Regions from separate parts of the Homo sapiens genome. Here regions 2, 3, 4 and 5 are each linked to region 1. Evidence: promoter capture Hi-C in human tissues and cell types (Jung and others, 2019). All regions are on one chromosome and are shown on one strand. Each heading gives the region's core, a stretch centred on a gene start or on the middle of the fragment in contact. The rest is flanking DNA. Distances are from core to core; before and after follow the strand shown. Region 1 holds the start of NXPH1 (neurexophilin 1). Region 2 has its middle 400 kb from the start of NXPH1. Region 3 has its middle 360 kb from the start of NXPH1. Region 4 has its middle 330 kb from the start of NXPH1. Region 5 overlaps NXPH1 (neurexophilin 1).

The links. The method cuts DNA at HindIII sites, captures the fragments that hold promoters and counts their contacts. A contact is called where the count stands out against the background at its distance.
Region 2: a contact is called between a fragment that was not itself captured here and the fragment with the promoter of NXPH1 in region 1, in 1 of the 25 tissues and cell types used here (neural progenitor cells).
Region 3: a contact is called between a fragment that was not itself captured here and the fragment with the promoter of NXPH1 in region 1, in 1 of the 25 tissues and cell types used here (lymphoblastoid cells).
Region 4: a fragment that was not itself captured here is called in contact with the fragment with the promoter of NXPH1 in region 1 in 3 of the 25 tissues and cell types used here (H1 embryonic stem cells, adrenal gland and hippocampus).
Region 5: a fragment that was not itself captured here is called in contact with the fragment with the promoter of NXPH1 in region 1 in 2 of the 25 tissues and cell types used here (H1 embryonic stem cells and bladder).

The regions. Positions count from the first base shown.
Region 1 is chr7:8,431,484-8,436,158 of GRCh38, forward strand. It overlaps NXPH1 (neurexophilin 1), which reads left to right and starts at 2,126. Exons shown (of 3, transcript NM_152745.3): 1 at 2,126-3,272; 2 at 4,121-4,284. The coding sequence starts at 4,231. RefSeq lists enhancers at 2,690-3,237, 3,238-3,785, 3,786-4,333. The HindIII fragment of the contact is 8,604 bases long and covers 91-4,675 here.
Region 2 is chr7:8,836,211-8,840,885 of GRCh38, forward strand. No RefSeq gene overlaps it. Among named protein-coding and RNA genes, the nearest start is that of NXPH1, 400 kb to the left of the region's middle. The HindIII fragment of the contact is 3,174 bases long and covers 1,257-4,430 here.
Region 3 is chr7:8,786,721-8,791,395 of GRCh38, forward strand. No RefSeq gene overlaps it. Among named protein-coding and RNA genes, the nearest start is that of NXPH1, 360 kb to the left of the region's middle. The HindIII fragment of the contact is 4,201 bases long and covers 303-4,503 here.
Region 4 is chr7:8,766,265-8,770,939 of GRCh38, forward strand. No RefSeq gene overlaps it. Among named protein-coding and RNA genes, the nearest start is that of NXPH1, 330 kb to the left of the region's middle. The HindIII fragment of the contact is 3,150 bases long and covers 420-3,569 here.
Region 5 is chr7:8,744,545-8,749,219 of GRCh38, forward strand. The region is part of intron 2 of NXPH1 (neurexophilin 1); the gene reads left to right. Among named protein-coding and RNA genes, the nearest start is that of NXPH1, 310 kb to the left of the region's middle. The HindIII fragment of the contact is 3,936 bases long and covers 1-3,821 here.

The DNA of each region.
Region 1 (4,675 bases), core at 876-3,375:
ATGAAGCTGACTGTTCATGTATTCTAAGAGTGCATTTTAGAGTAGGATACTACTTGAAACAGAAGAATGTAAGAAAATCATGCTTTTATTGCTCCATTGTTCTTTATAAAGCAAATGATAGGAAAAAAGGAGGGTGAATGAACCATTCTTGTCCACTTCTCCCCCAATATTATATTATTAAAACTGGAGTGGTTTAGCAGAAACGATACATTTTTCTGTGTTACTTGGTGGCTCGGTATCCTTTTCTGGTTGAGTATTATAGGAGATGAAGACCCCTGTGAAATATGAAAAATGACAATCCGCCACTGTTTTATATCACAGGCCAAGTATCTCATAGGATCCAGCGAAGGTTGAATGTCTGGGCAGAAGATCTCAGGTCATTAACAGAAAAAGCTCTTTGGCATCCTGTGTCATAGAACAAAGTGTCAAACCTGTTCCCATTACTAGGTGCCTGTGGTGCTTTTCTTAAATAATCAGTCCCATTCAGACAGACATTTTAAGGTCTCTGATCATCTTTCTATTTCACAAGCAGTATTTTTTTAAGGCTAAATGGCACTAGAAGCAGAATGTTTTTAAAGTAAGGTTTAGAAAAGAACTTGGTATATTCCAAAGCTAGCCGGATTCTTTCTCATTTTCCCAAAGGTCAGACAGAAGTTCAGCTCTGACAGCATTGTAGCTGGGAATCCAGATAGAGGCAGGCAACATTTGCTCCAGCTCTACACTCCAGTCTGGGAGGCCTGGGAGCTCCTGTACAAATAGGAATCAATTTTAGGATAGCCTTATGAATCCTAGAGGATGGAATTAGACAAAGCTTTTTTTGCCCCTGCTTTGACCATTTGGCCTCAGATACGGGTGCCCCAATACTTTAATTTTTCTTCTTTAAAGTTTAAAGTTTTTAAGAAAATGAAATAGCTGGTAAGTGAAAATAGTCAAGAAAACATTGTAATTATGCTATATGTACATGTGCGTTTTTTCTGAAGTGGATTTTCAGAGACACAGTTAGAAGGTGTGCTTCACTGCTTTATTCTGCATATGCCCCAATGAATTCCAGGAGGTCACAGCAGCAGAGTACAACTTTTAAGATTAGAAGAGCTTGCTCTTTAAAGAGTTATTTTTAGCTGGAAGGGAGAGTGTAGACCTCAAAGTGCTGGTAGGTATGTTCTACAGTGGGGATCTAATTTGGAGGTCTTTGGAGATCTGATTCCAGGGGAAGGTCTCAGTGGGGCTCCTCTTGCCTCTGCTGCAGGACTGGGTGGCTCTGCTGATTGTCACTGCCTTGTTTGAGGGGTGGTCTCCATCATCCAGGGGAATTCAGCCTGGGACCTATTGTCTAGAGTGTACATTGTATCTAGGCCCAGACCTGCCAGAGTGTCCACAGCCACACTTGAGGAAAGGACATTCCAGACTCATTAAATATCACAATTCGATTTTGATGTCACTAACTCAGGTTCCTGAGATAAATTTCCATACAATTCCTACAGATTGATATGGATATGTGCATCACCCCAGGAGAGGCTCTGGTGAAGGGCAGGCTTGGAGATGCAATGGGCAAGGTTGGGGAAGAGATACCCTCTTCCGGGTTCCGATTTGTGCCCTGAATTTGGGCAAGCTCAAGGAGCACTGGCAACCCCACCAGCACCAGAAGAAGCTGGTCCTGGCTGTCTCCCGAGACTGGTGAAACTGCTCTGGTGGTGGTGCACTGGAAGGGTGGAGGAAAAAAAACAAAAAACAAAACAGGGTTTGAGGGGGAATGGCAGGGACACGGTAGAGGCACAGAGATACAGAGACCTAGAGTCAGAAATCCTGAGTGAGACACACAGAAAGGCAGAAAAAGGCAGAAAGATGCTGAGGGACAGAGACGCAGACCACAAGAATGACAGAAGAAGGAGACAGAGAGAGAGAGGGAGTGAGAAAGATACTGAGAAATAGGGACAGTAAGGGAGAGACTGAGAAAGACAGAGACAGCCAGAGTCGGAGCACAGAGGCCGAGTCTGGGAGACGCTGGTTGAGTGGGAGGTGTCAGTAGCGAGGGAGGTGGTGACGGCTCGAAGCATCCCCCGTCCTCCTCCTCCCCCTTCACGCTCAGCCCAGCCGGCGGCGAGGAGTCCAGAGGCCAAGGTCGCCCAGTCCTCTCGGCTGTCTCGAGCTGAATGGCTGGCAGTCTGCGGCTCCCCCGCCTCCGGCCCGGCAGCCACAGGTCGGAGGCGCCCGGCGTCGGCGCTCGAGGCCGGCAGGGGCGCCCTGCACCCTCCCGCGCCCTTCCCCGCCCTACGCGACTCCCGGCTGCTCTTCCCGCCACTCCCCTGGGCTTTGCGATCTTCCCTACGCCCCCCGGGAAGGGGGCGCTGCGGCCACCGAAGACACCGCGGGAGCCACTTGTCCCTGTGGGCCCAGCCCGCGAGAGCCTGAGAGCCGGATCTGTTTACACAGGGTACTAATTAGTCTTTGAGGAATCATTCACCCACGTGCCAAAGTAATTGTCCGTGTCAGGAAGGTAGGCGTGCCAAGCCGCGGCTCTGCGGAGAAACCACGACCACCGCGGCCGCCGGAAACCCAAAGCGCTCCAGAGCGTCCCCGGGTGGCCGGGCAGCACCAGGGACAGCGCCCGGGACTCCACTGGGGACCGGCTCCTGGGCTTCCCAGCGTCGCGGGTAGAGGTACAGCTGCTCCGTGTGCCGCAGGCTCCAGATTCTCGCCACCCCACCCCTCCCTCAGAAACTCGGACTGCTCTCGTCTGCCGTGTGGTTCTCTTTTCTTCCGAAAGGCCAGTGTCTTATCTCTCCACTTCAAGTCCAGAGGACTTGCTCAGTCTCCTCCCCTTAAGTCATTTCCACCATCCTCAGGCAGCTGTGGGAAGCCGAGAGTCCTGGACTGTTCGTCCGGGTGCCAGCGCTGGCAGTCCCAGTCCGTCCGGTGCAGCAGCCCGGCGCATTCCCCTCTCTCCCTCCCTCTTGCTCTCCCTCCCTTTCTGTCTTCCTCTCTTTCCTCCTCTACTGCTCCCTCCCTCTCTTGCCTCTTAAGTTTCCTGCACCGTGAATCCAACTGTGCCAAGCCTTGGCTCCCGCGAACCAATCCTGAGCGCGACCCGGGCACTGGGACGGCGACTCCGCCAAAGCTGGACGAGGCAGCCGGACCCGTCTGCGCTCGAGCATGGAGACGGAGCGCCTGGGAGGGCACGTCCGGGGCGCTGGAGACGCCAGGCCCGAGTAGCTTCTCCATGGAGCCTGCCCAGAGCGGTCCCTTCTCGCAGGATTCGCCCCAAGTCCTGTGCGGTACGTACCCTTTGCCTCCGCTGTTCCCGGAGGGTACACCTGGGAGCGGGGTGGTGGGCACGAGGAAGGGACGGCAGGGAGGGGCGCTGGTTAGGAAAGAGAACAAGCCTGGCAGGTGACCCTCACAGCTCGGAGGAGGCTTCTTCTCTAGAAGTTAGCGACCGGCTGTACCCTTTGGCTCGAAAAAAGTAGTGCTAGAGATGTGACTGTGAGCATTCGTGGGTATCTCTGTGTGCGCCAGGGGTTCGAATGGGTAAACTGATCCCTGCTTTCCTGTATGCAAATTGCATTCTCTTTCCCCACCCCCACTTCACCGAACGTGTTGAGGTACCTAGCACCTAATCGCGGTCAGTTCTACCTACCTCTTCCTCTCACCGCGCCCCCCTCGCTCAATCTCTCTCTCTCCCTTTATCTTTCCCCTCTATCTCTCTCTGCTGGTGTGTACGTGTGTGAGCACTGCCAGGGCTGGCGAAGAACCAGCCGCCGCCTTTAGTCCGAGCCGCCGGGCCACCCAACACAAGGGCAGGTCTCGCTGCCGGAGAAGCCTGGGCTCCGAACCAGCCTGCACGCGGCTCAGTGTGCTCCGCCGCCTGGGAACTCGCACCCGAGGAGCGCAGGGGGCAAGGAGCCCCTCACCCTCCCTCTCGTCCGCCCGCCCGCCTCCCCAGCTGCGGACCGCGCGCTTGCTGGTCTCAGGCGCTGGATTTACTCGCTTTTCAATTTTTCGTACCCTCCCTCCCTTTTTTTTTTGGTCCCCCACTCCCCGCTACGACCCCCTTTCCCCGCTTGATTGTCAAGCCTAACCTTGCCCGCGTAGTCATGGGATGTCTAATTTTATTTGCATCTAGGCTGCTGAGAGCGCTCCTTGCTCTGTAAAGTGGATGTCAGGTGGATCTATGTTTCTGAAGGAACAAAGACTCAAAGAAGGCACCGCCAAGGAAGTTTGAGACGCGGGAGAATGCAGGCTGCGTGCTGGTACGTGCTTTTCCTCCTGCAGCCCACCGTCTACTTGGTAAGTCTTGGAAGGTTCGGGGCTTTCGCATTTTTACCCCGGCCGGGAGGCAAGGAAACTGGGGACACGCGGGAGAAGGGTTACGCCGCCAGTTCAGTGAGAGCAGCTTCCTAGCAGCTGTGTTGGAGCAACTTTGGCAAGCTGGTCTCTGGATTCCTGCGGATTTTCCGGGGTTCCCACCCCATTTTCTGCTCCAATCCCCCAGTCTCCTGCGCGTGATTCTTGAAAGGGGCTAGGGCGCCCCAGACACCCTAAACCCAAGGAGGTAGTGAGATGGGGTGCTTTATGTGATAGAGGGCCAACGAGAAGAAGTGGAAGGCAGGAACTCTCAGTAGCTCATGCACAGAGTTTAAACGAAGGGAAGTGGGGGTGTAGTTGGGTGGTGGAAAGA
Region 2 (4,675 bases), core at 1,594-4,093, 410 kb after region 1:
CTGAAACCATGAAGTTCTTTGAAAAGTCAGCTCTACCTTGAAAATTTTTCCATGTTCCCCTTATCTGCTTTACCAACTTATTTTAGCTTTACACTGTTGTTGAGGTTTTTGCTGCCTGAATGTTCACGTCTTTGTGTTTCTTAAATGGCTGTATGTATCTGTTTTATGTCAGCTAACATTGTGACAGCCAATTGTCCTTTTGTCATAATCTTTTTTTGTTTTTAGTCCACTCTGAACAATTTGTTGTTGTTGTTGTTGCTTTAGATGATGGAGAAGAGGGTAGATTAGGGAATGCCAAACATCCATGATACTATTAATTACCATACCTTTAAAAATCTGTTTAGAGCCACTGCAGCAAGAAAGAAAAGAGAAGCACTGAAACTTCAGCTGTCATCAACTGGCTACCTTCTGCCAGGAGAATATAAAACCTACTAAAGGGATTTTTGTTCTCGGAGAGAATGTTGCTGTGATGGTAATGAGATGCTAACTTCTAAGTTCAGCTATCAGATGACATAATTTACAGTGCACATATCTCATCAAAAGCATTCAAAATGACCAAAAGATCACTTGTGGGAATAAAAGTTATGTAACATCTGGGCAGGTGGCAGGCAATATTTGTTCAACGGTCTGGCAATTGGCTTACTTCACTAAGGACTGTGTGGTTCTTGGGTCTCTTCTGTTTAATATCATTCATTGGTCCTTCACTTTCATAGCCACTTCCAGGTTACATTTCAAAAAGAATTTTATTTAGTAGGATGCATAGTTACACGTATTGAGGAAATGTAAAATTAGATTACCGCAGACATAACTAAATCTCATACTAGGGAAAGTTTTTAGACTTACAGACTTCAATCATTAGGAAATAAAGGATATCTTATTGCTTCAACCCTGAGACCACTTTTAGTCTAATCCACTCTACACCCCCATATCGCCAATAGATTTCTTGACTGTATTGTTACCACATATCTAATTTCAACTAGTGACAAGATTCTTAACTTACAGCCTGGTACTCCTTCTACTATTTCATACTGTCTTTACTGCCCTCCAGGAGAGGATGCAGAAACAAGAAACAATTTGACTCGAACTCACCAAGATAAATCATTACCACTTTTCTTTGCTTCCATTTGTGCTATATACCCAAAGGCTTGGGAAGTTAAAAACATGAGCTTTAGTAGTGAAAGTTCTTGCCAGCGTTGTTTGCCAAGCAACCACATAAAAATACTGAACCCTTGTTTTCTTAGTAACATTTCCTTTCTTCACTGAGAAATGGATAAGTTGCAAGTATTGATTAATTGCATTATAGAACAAACAATTACTGAGAAGCAATTTGATTTTAAAAATTAAGCTACTTGAGGGGAAACTTTTATTAAACCTCATGAACTAATATATCAGCCAGAATGTCCAGACAGTACAGGTTGATTTTTGTTATTCTTGGGCAGCCAGCCTTTGGTATTGGATATAAGATATCATACTCACAGAAGATTAGTGAGTGGCAATTTTTAAATTATAGTAGTTCTTTGCCACATGAAGAGTGTTTAAAAAAATGTTTTTTTGTTCAAATAGCATTGCTCCCTGAAAATGACAAGAATGAAAGAACTAGCTATCCTTTAATTTCAAACAGTGTTATCTCAAGCAACAGTAGTTCAATGATTTTGTTCTTCTTTCTAATGACCTAAGCCCAGGGTAAATGATTTATAATGTTTGCTTCACAGTCACAACAGTAAAATCATATCGTGAAATGATCTCTTCATTTTTCATGATAGATTACTTTGAATAAAATTGCATTTAGGCAATATCCAATATTTACTAGCCTCTTCCAGATATATCTAAATTACAACAAACAGTAGGCTCTTTTTCGCTGCAAATTGCTGTATTTCCGAAACAGAAATTTCTTTTCTTTCTTTCTTATAACCCTTATTCAGATAGTAAAGCTAATTCTAGAAATGGTGATGTCATCTGAATATTATAGTCGATCTCTGAAAAGTAGTTATGCAATAGACCTATAATGTAGGAATACAATAGCTTTTTTAATTTAGCCAAATATACACTTACATGTGCATATTACACGTAAATATATACACACACACACACACACACACACACATATATATATGTACTCTTAGAAATGATCTTGAAACCAAATTTATCTTATAGCCCTAGAGCACTGTAGTTCTAACTAGTAATTAATTTTTAAAGATAGCTTTATGAATTAAAACAGAATTTTAAAAATTTTGTATTTGTATTGATTTAGGGGTACAAGTGTAGTTATATTACATGCATAGTGGTGAAGTCCAGACTTTTAGTGCACCCATCAGACTAACAGTGTACGTTGTAGCCAATAGGTAGTGTTTCATCCCTCAATCCTCTTCCCTTCCCTTTCAAAGTTTCTGATGTCTGTTTATTTCACTCTATATGTCCATGTGTGCCCATTGTTTATCTCCCACTTATAAGTGAGGACACATGGTTTTTGACTTTCTGCTTCTGTATTATTTTACCTAGGAAAATGGTCTCTAGTTCCATCTATGTTGCTACAAAAGACATGGTTTCATTCTTTTTATGGCTGTGTAGCATTCCATGGTGTGTATGTCCCACATTTTCGTTATGCAATTCACTATTGATGGGCACCTAGGTTAATTTCATGACTTTACTATTGTGAATAGTGCTGCAATGAATATATGAGTTTATGTGTCTTCTTGATATAATGATATTTTCCTTTGGGTAGATACCCGGTAGTGTGGTTGCTGGATCAAAGGGTATTTCTATTTTTAGTTCTATGAGAAATTTCCATACTGTTTTCCATAAAAGTCGTACTCATTTATAGTCCCACCAACAGTTTATACTAATTCCCTTTTCTCTGCATTCTTGCCAACATCTATTGTTTCTTGACTTTTTAGTAATAGCCATTCTGACTGGTATGAGATTGTATCTCATTGTGGTTTTGATTTAAATTTCTCTGAGGATTAGTGATGTTGAGCATTCTTTCGTATGTTTGTTGGCTGCTTGTATATCTTCCTGTGAAAGATACCTGTTCATGTCTTCTGACTGCTTTTTAATGGGGTTATTTGGTGTTATTCTTGTTGAGTTGTTTGAGTTCCTTGTAAATTCTGGATATTGGCTCTTTGTCTAATTCATTATTTACAATTATTCTCTCCCACTTTGTAGGTTGCCTGTTTTTAGATTACTTCTTTTGCTGTGCAAAAGTTTTTCAATTAATTAATTCCCATTTGTCTATTTTTGTTTTGGTTGCATTTTCTTTTGAGCATGTACTCATAAATTCTTTACCTTGACCAGTGTCCAGAAGAGTTTTTTTAATAGGTTTTCTACTAGGATTTTTATAGTTTCAGGTCTCATATTTAAGTCTTTAATCCATCTTGGGCTATTTTTTATGGTAAGAGATAGGGGTTCAGTTTCATTGTTCTGCATATGGCTCTCCAGTTTTTTCAGCACTGTTTATTGAATTGGAATCCTTTCTCCAGTGTATGTTTTTGTCGATTTTGTCAAAGATCACTTGGTTGTGGGTGTGAAGCTTTATTTCTGGCATCTCTATTATGCTTCATTGATCTATGTATCTATTTCTATACCAGTACTATGCTGTTTTGGTTACCATAGCCTTCTAGTATAGTTTGAAGTCATGTATTATAAAGCGTCTGGCTTTATTCTTTTTACTTAGGATTGCTTTGGCTATTCAGGCTCTGTTTTGGTTGCACATTAATTTTAGGGTTATTTTTTCTAATGCTGTGGAGAATGATATTGGTAATTTGATAAGAATTGCATTAAATATGTAGATCGTTTTGGGCAATTTGGTCATATTAATATTAATTCTTCTGTTCTATGAGTTTGGCATGTTTTTCCATTTGAAATAAGACAATATCTTATTTGGAGTCTTTCTGTCTGAATTCCAAAATTCATTTACTCTCCTGTATAGCTAAGGGGATTTGAATTGTGTTATGTGAGTGTAAATTAATACTAATTTTAAATAGTAATCTTCAATTATTTTCATAGATGAATATGGTGTACAAAATAAGATATGTGAAGACTGAGCTAGTGTGAAAGTCTCTAGATAAACTGAGAAGATTTTGAGATACTTGTTAATAAATTGCAGTTTATTTGTTGTATAATAAGAGTTTAATGGGTTTCAGGATTTCATTTCTGGATTATTAGTGTTCTATAGGTAAGTTTCATGCAATAAGTATTTGTTTTGTTTCTGAACACACATCAATTTGAGCACCTTACCAAATCTCGCAGCATTGACTTGTTGAGCACTTGGTATAATGAACTAAGTTGCAGGTCATATTTATGCCAGATACAAACTTGTAATTAATTAGTACATAAAATTTTACCTTGAAATATTTTATAAGTAGAATATAAAATCCTGACCTGCAAGGAAAAAATATATATAATGAATGGCAAGAAGGACAATCAATAAGAACTAAGAGAACATTAAAAAATAGTGAGATCATTAGCTCAAGCCCCTCAGACAGTCTTGGTCTCGGTCTAAAGTGATATGGGATTGGAGAGCATTATTATTCTGTAATCATACTTTATGTTTAAGAACTTATTGACACTTTAAAACTGTGAGCTGTTTTGCATGATTTACATGCTAACCAATGATATGAACAGATGAGGGAGGAGGTCATTCATACCTAAGTGTAGGAGCACATTTATTTTGAATATA
Region 3 (4,675 bases), core at 1,153-3,652, 360 kb after region 1:
ATCTTGAGTGATTTATAATCTATATGGAAGGTGGACCATTATCTTTCACATGTCAATTCATTGACTTCCTTATTTCCAATGACTTCCTTTTCCTCTTCACCTTAACAACCTACTTTCTTCTTCATGCCTTGCCCCTATAAGTGCCCCATCCTGTAACTGCTAATTCAAGGATCTAACTTCCTGACCCAATTCTCCTCTATTTTCAGCATACTTGTTCAGTAGTTCTCATTATGCCCATCCATAGATCTTTTTGGCTCCTCCTATTCTGCCAACTCATTTTCCAGTTCATCATGTTTCCCTTCTATTCGCAACCCTTATATTCAGTTTAAACTTTAAGTTATATTACATCAATAAAGTCACTATTATCATAAATTCCTTTTCACTTTCTTTTTGTCACATCTCTATGGCAGAATCCCATTCCTAGATGAAGCCAACTGTCTGCTTTACTTGTACTGGTGCCCAGGTAGCACAAAGGTCTTTGAGAAAATATTATAATATAACATACTTTTTCTTCTAAAAATCATAACATGACTTCAGACAAACTCTTAGTATTGTTGGCAATCATGGTTCGTACCTCTGGGCAATCTTCCCACTATGCACATTGATATTTCAAAGTTTCTATACTCTTCTCAGATGTCTAATATATACATTCCCACTCAATTCCTCAATGTCAGCGTATTATCTTATTTTCTATTTATAGAGGGAAAAAAAGAGAAATAGACAAAAGAATAACCAATTCCCAAATGTCGCTGTACTTCTACCCATCGTCCTCTCCCTCTTACAGTGGAAGAACTGGTCCTTCATGTCCTCCTGGCCAAGACTAAAGTGACTCCATCTGTTTTCTCAGAAACTGTAGGCTATTGCTTGTCTTCTTACCTTTTCCTTTTAATTACATCCAATACCCCCATCTACTGGACTATTTGCAGTGACAATTGAGCATGTTCAAATCACTTCTACCAAAACAAAACCAAAAAACAACAGCAAATAACTTTTGTAGCACATTTCTCAAAGAAATTGTCCATGCTCAATTAGTATTTGAATAAACAAAGACATTATTTGAAAATATTTGGCTTATCAAAATATTTCATTTTGAGAAGGACTTTCACTGCGTAAAAGCTTTAAATCTAAATGTATATTTATTGAATTTCTACTGTATTGAGTATTAGGGAGATAGTATATACAGGAGAGTTCTCTCTATTTATCGATGGGCTTACTGTCTAGTAGGGAAGACTGGCAAGTAAACATTAACAACACAACTTTATTTATGCTATATAAATGTATATGTATGGACTATGGAAGCATACACAAAAGCAACTGAAAATTTAAAATGAAAATACAACATAATTTTTACTGAGGTAGGGTAAAATTAAGACAAATGTGCTTTTAACTTAAAATGAGAAATGTTCTCCTTTTAAACTTTTATCTTAGGTTCAGGAGTACATGTGCAGGTTTGTTATATGGGTAAATTGCATGTCATGAGGGTTTGGTGTACAGATTAGTTCATCACCCAGGTAATAAGCATAATACCCAATAGGCAGTTTTCCTATTCTTCTCCCTTCTTCCATCCTCCACCCTCAAGTAGGACCTGGTGTCTCTTGTTTCCTCCTTTGTGTGCATGTGTTTTCAGTGTTTAGCTCCCACTTATAGGTAAGAACATGGAGTATTTAGTTTTCTGTTCCTGCATTAGTTCCCTTAGAAAAATGGCCTCCAGCTCCATTCATGTTGCTGCAGAGGACAAGATCTTGTACTTTAGCATGGCTGCATAGTATTCCATAGTGTATATATACCACATTTTCTTTTTCTAGTCTACCATTGGTGGGCACTTAGGTTGATTCCACATCTTTGCTATGATGAATAGTGCTGCCATGAACATATGCATGCAAATGTCTTTATGGTAGACCCATTTCTATTATTTTGAGTATATACCCAATAATGAGATTGCTGAGTTGATGGGTAGTTCTATTTTTAGTTCAAGAACTCTCCAAACTACTTTCCACAGGGGCTGAACAAATTTATATTCCCACCAACAATGTAGAAGCATTTTCTTTCCTCTGCAGCCTTGCCAATATCTGTTATTTTAAAACTTTTTAATAATATCCATTCTGACTGGTATGAGATGGTATCTCATTGTGATTTTGATTTGCATTTCTCTGATGATTAGTGAGGTTGAGTATTTTTTCATATATTTGTTGGCTGCTTGTATGTCTTCTTTTGAGAAGTTTATGTTCTTTACCTGCTTTTTAATGGGGCTATTTGTTTTTTTATTCTTGTTGATTTGTTTATTTTCCTTGTGGATTCCAGATGTTACTCCTTTTGTCAGGTGCATAGTTTGTAAATATTTTCTCCCATTCCGTAGGTTGTCTGTTCATAGTTTCTTTTGCTGTTCAGAAGGTCTTTAGTTTAATTCCACCCTGATTGTCAATTTTTATTTTTGTTGAATTTCCTTTTGAGGACTTAGTCATACATTATTTCCCTACACCAATGACCAGAAGAATATTTCCCAGGTTTTTTCTAGGATTTTTATAGTTTTTGTTTATAAATTTAATTCTTCAACTAATTTTGAGTTCTTTTTTGTATATGGTGAGAGGTTGGGGTCCAGTTTCATTCTTCATAACCATACCTCATATGGTTAGCCAATGAGGAATCCTTTTCCTATTGCTTATTCTTGTTTACTCTGTCAAAGATCAGTTGGTTGTACATGTGTGGCTTTATTTCTGGGTTGTCTATTCTGTTCTATTGTCTATGTGTCCATTTTTGTATCAGTACCATGCTGTGTTGGTTACTGTAGCCTTATAGTATTTTAAAGTCTTGTAATGTGATGCCTTCACCTTTGTTCTTTTTTCTTAGGATTTCCTTGGCCATTTTGGCTCTATTTTAGTTCTATATGAATGTTAGAATAGTTTTTACTAATTACTTGAAGAATATCTTTGGTAGTTTGGTAGGAATAGCATTGATTCTATAAATTGCTTTGGATAGTATGGTCATTTTAACATTATTGATTCTTTCTACCCATAAGCATGGAATGTTTTTGCATTTGTTTGTGTCATCTCTGATTTATTTGAGCAGTGTTTTATAATACTTGTTATAGAGATATTTTACCTCTCTGGTTAGTGATATTCCTACTAGGTATCTTATTCTTTTCTTGGTATTGTGAATAGGATTACATTCTCATTGTGTATAGGATTTTGTGAATGGGCTATTGTGACTAGGATTTGGGTCTCAATTTGTACTTTGTTGGTGCATAGAAATGCTACTGATATTCTTACATTGATTTTGTATACTGAAGCTTTGCTGAAGTTGTTTTTCAGATCTAGGAGCTTTTCGGCAGAGACTATGGGGTTTTCTAGGTATAGAATCATATCGTCTGCAAACAGATAGTTTGACTTCTTCACTTTTTATTTGGATGCCTTTTCTTTCTTTCTCTTACCTGATTGCTCTGGCTAGGACTTCCAGTACTATGTTGAATAGGAGAGGTGAGAGTGGGCATCATTTTCTTGTACCATTTCCCAAGGGGAATACTTCAAGCCTTCGCCCATTCAGTATGATGTTGGCTTTGGATTTGTCATAGATGGCTGTTATTGTTTTAAGGTATATTACTTCAATGCCCAGTTTATAGGTAGTTTTTAATATTAAGGGATGTTAAAATTTTTCAAAAGTCTTTTCTGTGTCTATTGAGATGATCATGTGGTTTTTGCTTAAGTGATGAATCACATTTATTGATTTGTGTATGTTGAACCAACCTTGCATCTCAGGAATAAAGCCAACTTGGTAGATTAGCTTTTTGTTGTGCTGTTGGATTTGGTTTGGTATATTTTGTTGAAGATTTTTTTGCATCTATGTTCATCAAGGATGTTGGCCTGAAGTGATCTTTCTGTGGGTGTCTCTGCCAGGTTTTGGTATCAGGATGATGCTGGATTAATAGAATGAGTTAGGGAGGAGTACTTCCTCCCTAAGAGAATAGTTTTTAAGAATAGTTTCAGTAGAAATGGTACCAGCTCTTCTTTTTACATCTGACAGAGTTTGACTGTTGTATTGGAACTGTAGCATAGTGTGTATTTATGTCTACAAATTTTATATAAATTTTGCGAGGTCATTTTAGTCAAGACTTGCACAAGTATTTATTAAAATTTATTATAAATTAATGAATAATAGATTTTAATACTTGTGCAAGTCCCGACTCAAATTAAAGGATCTTAGATTTTACTCTAAAATCTTCTAATTACCCATCAAATCTTTCCAATATTTAAATTCGGTCTATTTTTTTCAAGTGACCACTCTTTCTTTCTTCTATAATGAGTTCCTGGTGTTGACTTACAGTTCATAATGTTTTTGTTTCAGTTTACCAACTCTGGGAAACTCTCTGTATCAGAATAAATCTCCCAGAAAGAACACTTAGCAACATTATATTTTAAAAAATCATCTGTTTGAAGCCACACGAGAATTGATGACATGAATACCCAATACGTGGGTAAAGTAAAATAAATACTAAAATATTAAAATAACAGTGATATATTGTGGAATTTATGCATGCATAGACATGGATATATGTGTGTGTGTGTGTGTGTGAGAGAGAGAGAGAGAGAGAAAGAGAAAGAGAGAGGAGAGAGAGAGAGAGAGAGAGAAGCAGTAATATTTAAACCCTAAGTTATAATTACATGAAATGTAAATGGACTAA
Region 4 (4,675 bases), core at 745-3,244, 330 kb after region 1:
ATAGATGCAATCACTCATGTTTTATTGGTAGTGAAACTGAGATTCATAGAAGTTAAGAGAGTAGACATTGACAGTCTGATTCCAGACTGGGTGCTCCTTTTGTGCTTTCATTTTGGTCTTAATTTTTGGACATAATTAAACAGAAGTTTTGGTACTAATTTTTTAGTAGTCTGGGAAATATGCTAATATATCTCTGAGTATATATTTTATTTTTTGTTGGTAAAACTATATAAAGAAATTTAAGAACTCTAACATTTATTTATATTTGAAGATGATATGAATATTTCATTTCAGATAATGTACATTAAATATTTCACTCTGATGACCTAGATACATTAACATTGTACAGTAGCATTTGAATATTAACATTTAAAAATGCACTCACTTTTCAATTATACCCTTATTTTGAATTATGGGGTCATGATTAAATATTTAACCAAGAACTCAAAACAATGGCAGAGGTACATAGCTACAGTTTTGATTCGACATAGCTACAGTTGTGATTTGAGGGTTTCTCCCTCAAGGTGACTATTTGCTTCTAGCATCTGCCTAAATATGTAGATGCCTATATGCCTATAATATAGGCATATAAGCATGGATTAGTGTTGATTAATTTTTTTAGGGAACTTAAAAAAATCTTTTTACTATTAACTTATTTAAACCTTTATGTGAGAAAAGAAATTTGTCTATTCATAAGAAAAAGAATGTGCACATAGCATAGTGACATTAGTAGGGCATGATGTGTGAAATAATGTAGACATCTTTAATGCTGTGAAAACCAGGTAAACTATTATTTTTAGTAATTTTTAAATTTTGAGTGAATAAATTGCATAGGAAGACATATTTTAGAGAACATATTGATTTTCGTATAAAACCACTAGTTCATGATATACGACAGATTCAACTGGCAAGCCTAATGCATGGTTATAATTTCTTCTTAATATTCCATTTTTCAACCACTGCTTAGCTTTACCTTACCCAAAATATATTTGTCTTTTTCTGCGTGTTACTGATTTCTCACTCTGTTAGTATTACCAGTATTTGAGGAGATCAAATAATATTTTAAATATTAGGCTCATTATTGCAGTCAATTTTTTTTAAAAAATTACATAAAAAGCAATTATTGAGCCCCTACAATGCTCTAGACATCATAATAGGTGCTGAGAACACCAAACTAATTTTTTAAAAGAAATTCCACATTGTAGGAGGTAAAAACAATTTGTCTCATGAGAGATATAATTATATTATACCATATCATACCAACATGATATGATATAGAAGATAAATTGCTTTGGTGGCCCAGTTGAAGAAATAAAATATCTTGCCTGTAGATAGAATGAGGTGTATTATGGTTTAGATGCTCCTTCTAGTTTGAATGCAAGTAATTTATTTGAAAGGTAGATAAGTGAGACTAGGAAGGACAGCCAATAAAGGGGCTTTAATAATCATAGGTAAGCAAGGGTAATATTTATACATGGGATTGGACACAGAATAAAAATAAGCTGATAATTCTCTGAAAGCCATAACATTAACTGGGAAACTTAAATAAAGGATCTAAGCTTGATTATAAGATGAAGAACAAATAATTTGGGGGGGCCCAGACCGATGCTATTTCTTTTTTCTTTTTTGAGACAGAGTCTCACTCTGTCACCCAGGCTGGAGTGCAGTGGTATGATCTCAGCTTACTGCAACCTCTGCCTCCCGGGTTCAAGCAATTCTCTGCCTCAGCCTCCCGAGTAGCTGGGATTACAGGCGTGCGCCACCAAGCCTGGCTAATTTTTTTTTTGTATTTTTAGTAGAGACAGGGGTTCACCTTCTTGGCCAGGCTGGTCTTGAACTCCTGACCTTTTGATCCACCCACCTCAGCCTCCCAAAGTACTGGGATTACAGGCGTGAGCCACCACACCCAGCCAACTGATGCTATTTCTATAGAGAAAAATGATTGTATGAGCTCTTTGCTGACATATATTTTTCACAATTTTCTTAATTAGTCCAAAGCACCTTGAATGCTAAACTTGAAAATATAAGACCAGTGTGAAGCTAACATTTTCCACTAAGTATATCTCACCAGTGGGCATGTTCTGTGAAGAAAGTAGACAGTTTTGAGTGTTCTTTTTTCCTTAGGATTTGATAAGAATTTGTAACATAGATTGTTGGAGTTGAAAAGTGAGCCCTCAATAATAGCAACATTCTTTTCTATCCATTCTACACAATGTCACAAATAAAGAGTAAATTTGCAGGCCAAAATATCAACTTGCTTATTGATAGAGACTCTGTACGAGGATGTAATTTATTGTAAGAGCCAAATGGGTCTGAAATCCACACCCAAGGACTGGGCTGACTTACCCAACAGTTGGGGAAATATGCTTTTCATGTGGATCACCTTCCCATGGAAGATGGAGTAAGGTGAGAGGAATTTCTACTTTTGGGGGCCAGCTTGTTCTGGGTGGAGCTGAGTTTAACATGCACGGTTATCCTCCTCACATTTGTCAGATATACCACTGTGTTCCCGAGTGGCAGAGATAGTGAAGGAGTAGAGAGAGGCCAAGAGTGTGTGTAGAACAGATTCTCCTTCATAAAAATCAGAATTTGTGTTGGAGAGGTGGCAGGAGAGGGATATTTCCCCTTTTTAAGAGATTATGTAAAAAGATTAGAAAAAAACAGAAAAAATTGATTTAATATTTTTCCTGTTAGAAAAATTTGGGTTTGTTGTTGTTTAGGACAAAATGAGGAAAATTCATTATAACTACTCATAATGATAAAGATATAGAAAATTATAGCATCAGAGTATCCCTTAAATAAAAATTTTCTATTTGTTTAAAATCTGATTATTAACAGTTTGGGCATCACCTTTGTTCTAAACAATAAGTGTAAAGACCAGTTGTAATAACAAACTTAACTAAAATTTAACTTTGCTTCAAATTAGCTTTAACAGTATCACTATATGTTTTAATTTAATATAGCCTACATCATCTTCCAAATTTTTACTCTATAGAATATCTAAGCAGCGAGATGCTCACATTTGAAAAATGGCACAGTCACATTAGTTGGGAAAATATTGAGCTCGTAAAGCTTTGAAGGTCCCAGACTATGACTATGGGGTTTCTTAATTTGAATATAAATTGTGAATAACCTAGAATTTTAAAAACTTGACTACTGTCCTTTCTTTCACAGACTAATTAATAGGACCATTTTTTTTCTGTTTAAAATTCTTTAATGTGTGTTATTTTATTTTGTTCTCAAAGCTATCTTCTCAGGCTGGCATTAAAATCGGAATATGAGAGATGAAAAAACTGAGATGTTAAGCTACATCATGGGTTCAAGGCAGAGGACTAGAGAGCTCGAGTCAAACTGGAGTCTTCTGACTTCCATTCTGTCAGCCTTTCCATTGTGGTGTTTTTATTAAGTACAACGTAAAGTCTGTCTTCATAGAAGGTCAATGCAGTCAATTAAAAAGGGAAACAAAAAAAAAAACATAAGCATTTGATGTAATAATAATGAAAGGAAGCTGACATTATTCAAAATAAATTTTCTCTTACTGAATTGATGAGTAGTTTGGAGGAAGGCAAAAAGGATTGAATTACAGTGTTTTGTGCCAAAGGGTTTTTTTGACCCTGAACCCAGTTTATTTTTCTGACTTTGAGATAAGATGCTGAGGTGGCAATCAAGTTTTCTAGAAAAGGTCTAACATGATATGAACAGAAGAATTTCTCACTTTCTCATATTAGAAAACTTTCCTTTTCACTTGATATTTGAAGATGAAGGGCTCATTGATACATGTTTTCACTAACCCTTAGCTTAAAACTACTCTATAAAAGATTGTGAAGGAAATAAATATGAACCTAATCTTGATTTCTGAAAAGCTATTTCCTGTGAAACAAGAATGGGATAAATTGGTAATGCAACCTTTGTAAACATGATTTTATATTTTTTATGCTAAGGACTATACTCATAGGAGCTTCATCTTCTACTCATTTGCATGATATTTTATGGGTCAAACATCCTCTTCAGCTCAAGCGAGGCTAGTGAAACATTTAGTCTGGAGGAAATTTTTATTTTTGAATAAGCTTTGTGTATCAGCTTATGGTAAAGGATTCTACTGTTTTTGGTCTTTTCATTTTTTTTAAGAGTGTTTTTGTTCAGGATTGCTGTTTACTAGTAGTTGAAAATTGTATGGAAATGCATAGGATTTAGGTCTGTTTTTGAGATGATTTATGTGCAAGTAAATCCTGTAAACCATCACCCTAAAGCATATTCATGGCTTCAAATATCTCTCTGTTTCCATTGCTCTTCTGCAGGCAGGAAGCGTCTCATTTAGGATTCATGTCCTCTGGGAGGGAGAGAAAGTAGTTAGTATGCATTTTTTAGGATATTCTCTTAAAGATTGCTCCCATTATTAAAATGTTTTTTGAAACCAAAATACAGATAATTTTGTCAGCATTCAACTTTTTACTTTAGTTCACTGAGAAGGACAGTTCCTGCACTCTGAAATGTGTTGACTGGACTCCAGGATAAGCAGATATAAAACCAGATCAGTTTATGTTGAGAAATTGAATGTAGAATTGGAAAGCAGAAGGTTGTTGGGAAAGATGCTCTATACAGATTTACTTTTTAAGCTGTTTTGGTTTCACCTAGTGCAAATCATTTTACCTCTCCAGTCTCAGATTCCTAATCT
Region 5 (4,675 bases), core at 604-3,103, 310 kb after region 1:
CACGTTTCTTGCACAATACCATCTACTCATACTACAAAATCAACATCACCATCCCTCTCATGTCTCCAGACCTTCAGATCCTTGTTCCCAGTTTCCTAGTGGATGGCATCACCAGAATGACTTCCCACAGGCGCTTAATCTCCCAATATTTCTATGAGTTTTAATTTTATTTTCCAGCCAACTTGTTACCACTGTTTTCCTTGCAGATGCAAGCAAGCTTTCTCAACCTTTTTTATGTTTCTATTTAGCCAAGAATCATCAAGCTTAGTTAATCCTACGTCTGAATTATCCCTTAGATCCATCATTTCTTCCTCTTTTTCTCTGCTACTGTTTTGGTTCAGGTTCACTTCTTTTTCAAATGAAATATTGCAATTAGTTATTTAATTAGTCTCCCTTCCTTCAAGGTCTCTATTAAACCACCCTTTAATATCTACTCAGCGATTCTTCTAGAGCCAGGATGACCTACTTAAAAAGAAAACAAAATGAAATGTAGTGACTCCCTATTTCCTGTAAGATTAAGTTTAAATGCCTTAGCAGCACCTTTACGATTTGGCCGTAGCCTGCCTTCTACAAGTTTTTGGCAAGCTCTTCTATTTCTCCTCTAAAGTAATGCTCCCTGGCGTTCAGCAGTAAGAAGCTATTTTCTTTTTTTCCCCTTTCTTTATTGACAAGTGAAAATTGTGTATAATTATGGTGTACAGTATAAGGCTATGAGATATGTATACATTGTGGAATGGCTAAATCAAGCTATTTACCATATGCATTATCTCACATACTTGTTTTTTGTGTATGGTGAGAATGCTTAAAATCTACTCTCTTAGCATGGTCTCACTTAAATGTGGAGTGTAAAAAAGTTGAACTCATAAAAACAGAGTAAAATGGTGGATACCTGGGGGGTGGGGGTGGGTGGAGTAGAGAGATGTTTGTCTATGAATGTAAAATTTTAGTTAGAGAATAATAAGTTTTTTTTTCATTCTTACATTTGACACGTCCTTTCTCTGCTCTGTGCTTTGGCACTGTCTGCCCCGAAACAGAGTCTTGCTCTGTCGCCAGGCTGGAGTGCAGTGGTGCAATCTTGGCTCACTGCAACCTCTGTTTCCCTGATTCAAGCAATTCTCCTGCCTCTGCCTCCCTAGTTGCTGGGACTACAGGCATGTGCCACCACGCCCAGCTAATTTTTTTTTTTTTTTTTTTTTTGTATTTTTAGTAGAGACAGGGTGTCACCATGTTGGCCAGGATGATCTGATCTCTTGACCTCTTTATCCTCCTGCCTTGGCCTCCCAAAGTGCTAGGATTTCAGGCGAGAGCTACTGTCCCCGGCCCTGTTCTTTATTCTTGGAAGAACTCCTCTGGCCCATGCACTAGCTGTTAAAGTACCAAGCCTCTTTTATCTACCACATCTAAGGATCATCTCTTCTGTTATACCTTCTCTACCTTTCAACTTTGACTATGATTGCTGGAATGTTACACATAGTGCTGGTTGCATCACACTGTGATGGCTTAATTGATGCCTCCAGTAGACTGTGAACTTCTCGAGAGCCAGGACCATGTGCCATTGATGTTTGCATTTCTTTATTCCACTCAATATTCTTGTAGTCTCACTATACAGCTATTTTGTTAATAAGACAAAAGAAATTGGAGTTGTTAGTCTTGAACAGCTCTGGGGACTTTGCTAAGGAACCTTCCTGTTTTTTTCCAGATTTATATTCTCTTTTAGACATTGCCCTACTCCCTTCCTAAGTAAAAAGCAAGGACTGAGGGAATAAGAATATTTAAGACAGTGTTAATGATGATTACAGCTGAAACCTGCTTTGATTCTTTACCCACACTGAGATGTTCCAGAGAGGCTTCCTGACTGTCAGCACCACTTGAAGCCTTTCCCATTATATCACTGAAGGCAAATAATTCATTGCATTTGGAAGCTAAGCTGTTTAATAACAAAGGATGAGCATAATTTTAGCTAACTTGAGTTCAATCACTTACTTTATTTGCCATATATTTAGGCAGTCACAGCAGCACTTTCAAAAATATATGCTTGCTTTCTTTCCTTTTCAACATTTCAATTCATGTTACATTGTTTGGAGTTCAATATATATTGATGCTATCCTTAATATAAATTTAAAAAATTATTTTATTGTGGTATGAGCACTTAATGTGAGTTCTACCCTCTTAACAAATTTTTAAACTGTAAAATACAATATTGACTATAAGTACAAATGTTGCAAAGCAGATCTCTAGAATTTATTTCAACCTGATTAACTAAAACTTTATGCTCATTTTCTCCCCATTTTCTTCTCCCCCGCTTTCCCCCACAGCATGCTTTTTTTTTTAATTGTTTGCTTTATGTTTGTGGTTATATTGAAGGGAGATTTTCTTTCAAGAATGCTTTATGCTCTTAAATCCGATTATAAATTAATAATTTACATAAAATATTATGTAGTGAGATTCAGAGGTAAAAATATCTGGTGATGACAACAGCTAAGACGACTATTGAACAGTGTTCCAGGTACTGTCCTTAGTAATTTGAATGGAGTGCCCTATTTAATCCTCACAACAGCCCTGTGAAGAAGATTGATATTATTCTTCTATTCCCTAGAAGAGAGAAACAGTGAAGCTTAAACAAGTTAAGTAACTTGCCCACATCACACAGCTGTTAAAGATCAGAACCTGGACTGGGATTCAGGCAGTCTGACTCCAGAGTGCACTCCCATAATTACTACAGCTGTGGATAACATAATTTAGAACTAAACAATTTTTATTCTACCTGAAAATCAGAGGTTTGTCTGTCAGAGGAGTCTTAGCAACTTTTTGAATAGATTGATTCTTCCTTCTTGAAACCATATTCACTACTTCCACAAGTTTTACTTTCATTTCCCCCTATGCTACTGGTAAATTGAGCTGTAAATCCCTCTTTTCCTCCTTCTTTGGGATAATTTCGTTACTGCTTCATTAGCCAGTGCATCATGAAAGCATCTCAATACAGCCCTTTGCTGATGCTGAGATATAAGCACTAAGCCACTACTAAATGCATTCCTGTATTTATTCTTTTTGCCACACAAACAATGGGAAACTGTCTAGATAATTCCAGGCAAAAGCCAGAGAAGAGGATACACATGTATTTGTTTTATACTGAGGCATAAATGTAGGAACTGTGATAAGGGCAATGCTTATGTAACTAGGCAAGTGCAGATTCAGATGTTTAATCAATTAGATTTTATTCACGCACACACACACACACAGTCTCCCAAATCCAAAGGTATGTACTATTTTTACTGATTAATGTTAGTTTTAAATTTTACATTATAGCTACTCTGTGTTACAGAAAAATAGTATCTTTTGAAATGCAGTACCTTCAGAAAATGAGTGGGAAAGCTGTAGTTGTTTTTATTAGTTTTATAACTATAATGAAAAATACTAACTCTGGAGCTGCTAAGGATAATCCTTTTGATGTGAGAGTAAATATTTTTCCATAATGGAATGGCTTTATTGTCAGGATAGATTGGAAATGTATTGCTTTTTTCTTAAGAAAAGTTATATATTCCTATGCATAATCCTCCTCTCCCAAGGAATATTTTTCCTTTCAACTTTATCCTATTAGAAATTAATATTTAGTCCTTATTAAAAATTACTTGTGCTAAAGCAACGATTTTGCTGTTATTAGTCATTTCTACTGTTTGAATGTGGTCCATTTCTGCGATACTATTTTGGTATGAAGAAAATCTGTAAACAGGAAAGAGTTTGGGTACATAGGGGAAAGGAGAGATACCAAAGCAAGGGTTGAGCAAAAGTGAAAGGGAAGTACTTACAACTAAAAAAAAGTTGGCAGCGAAGATAACCTTCTGTCAATTTCCTATATTTTCCCCAAGACCACTAATGGCCGTCTGATAGCCCCATTTGACTCCACAGCAGGGTGTTTGCTTATTGTGGGGAGCAGACACTTTAAAAGGACTGACTGCATACACGAGGCTGGTCCGTGTTTCTCTTAGATGTGACCTTGCCCTGACAATAGTCCAGAGACTGATTCTCCATTGGTCAGTGTTATCTATTCTTCCTTCATCTCTGCACACAATGGCCCTCTGCATCTTTCCATGAGGGCATTGCTATTGCCTTGGGGATCACAGCAGATGCAACTGTACTCGAGCTAGCAGCCTCAAAGAGTTCACAGTTTTTTTTGTTAGCCTACCCAGAGTTTCAGTTTTGGCTTTTCAGGGTGCTGTCATGGGATACAAACGCATGATGAAGTTGCGTTTTATCTCTGATGCAATGAATTTTCATGGAGACAAACTTGCAGGGTTTTTAAGCTCAGCATTATTAGGAAGATGACAGCTTCAGCTGGTATTCTTTCTGTGGTGAGAATAGTCCAGCCACACTCATGTTACCTCAATTTGAACAGGCAAATAGGAGACTGCTTCTTGGCTTGAAAAGAAGGTTTACAAGATCTAAGAGCTTTTGTTCTAGTTGAGATGACGAAGGTTCTCTGCATCTATGTCCCTGGGGGAGCCCATTTTTTTCCACATTCCAAGCACTTGGCTGTGTAATCCTGTGCAAAACTTCTCCCAGGCAAGATCTCCATATGTATTATTTGGTTGCTTTCTCTAATTCTCCTCAAACATCAGCTTAGTATTCACAATAATAGCTACATTTATTGAGCCCTTTCCAAATGCCAGCCACTGTT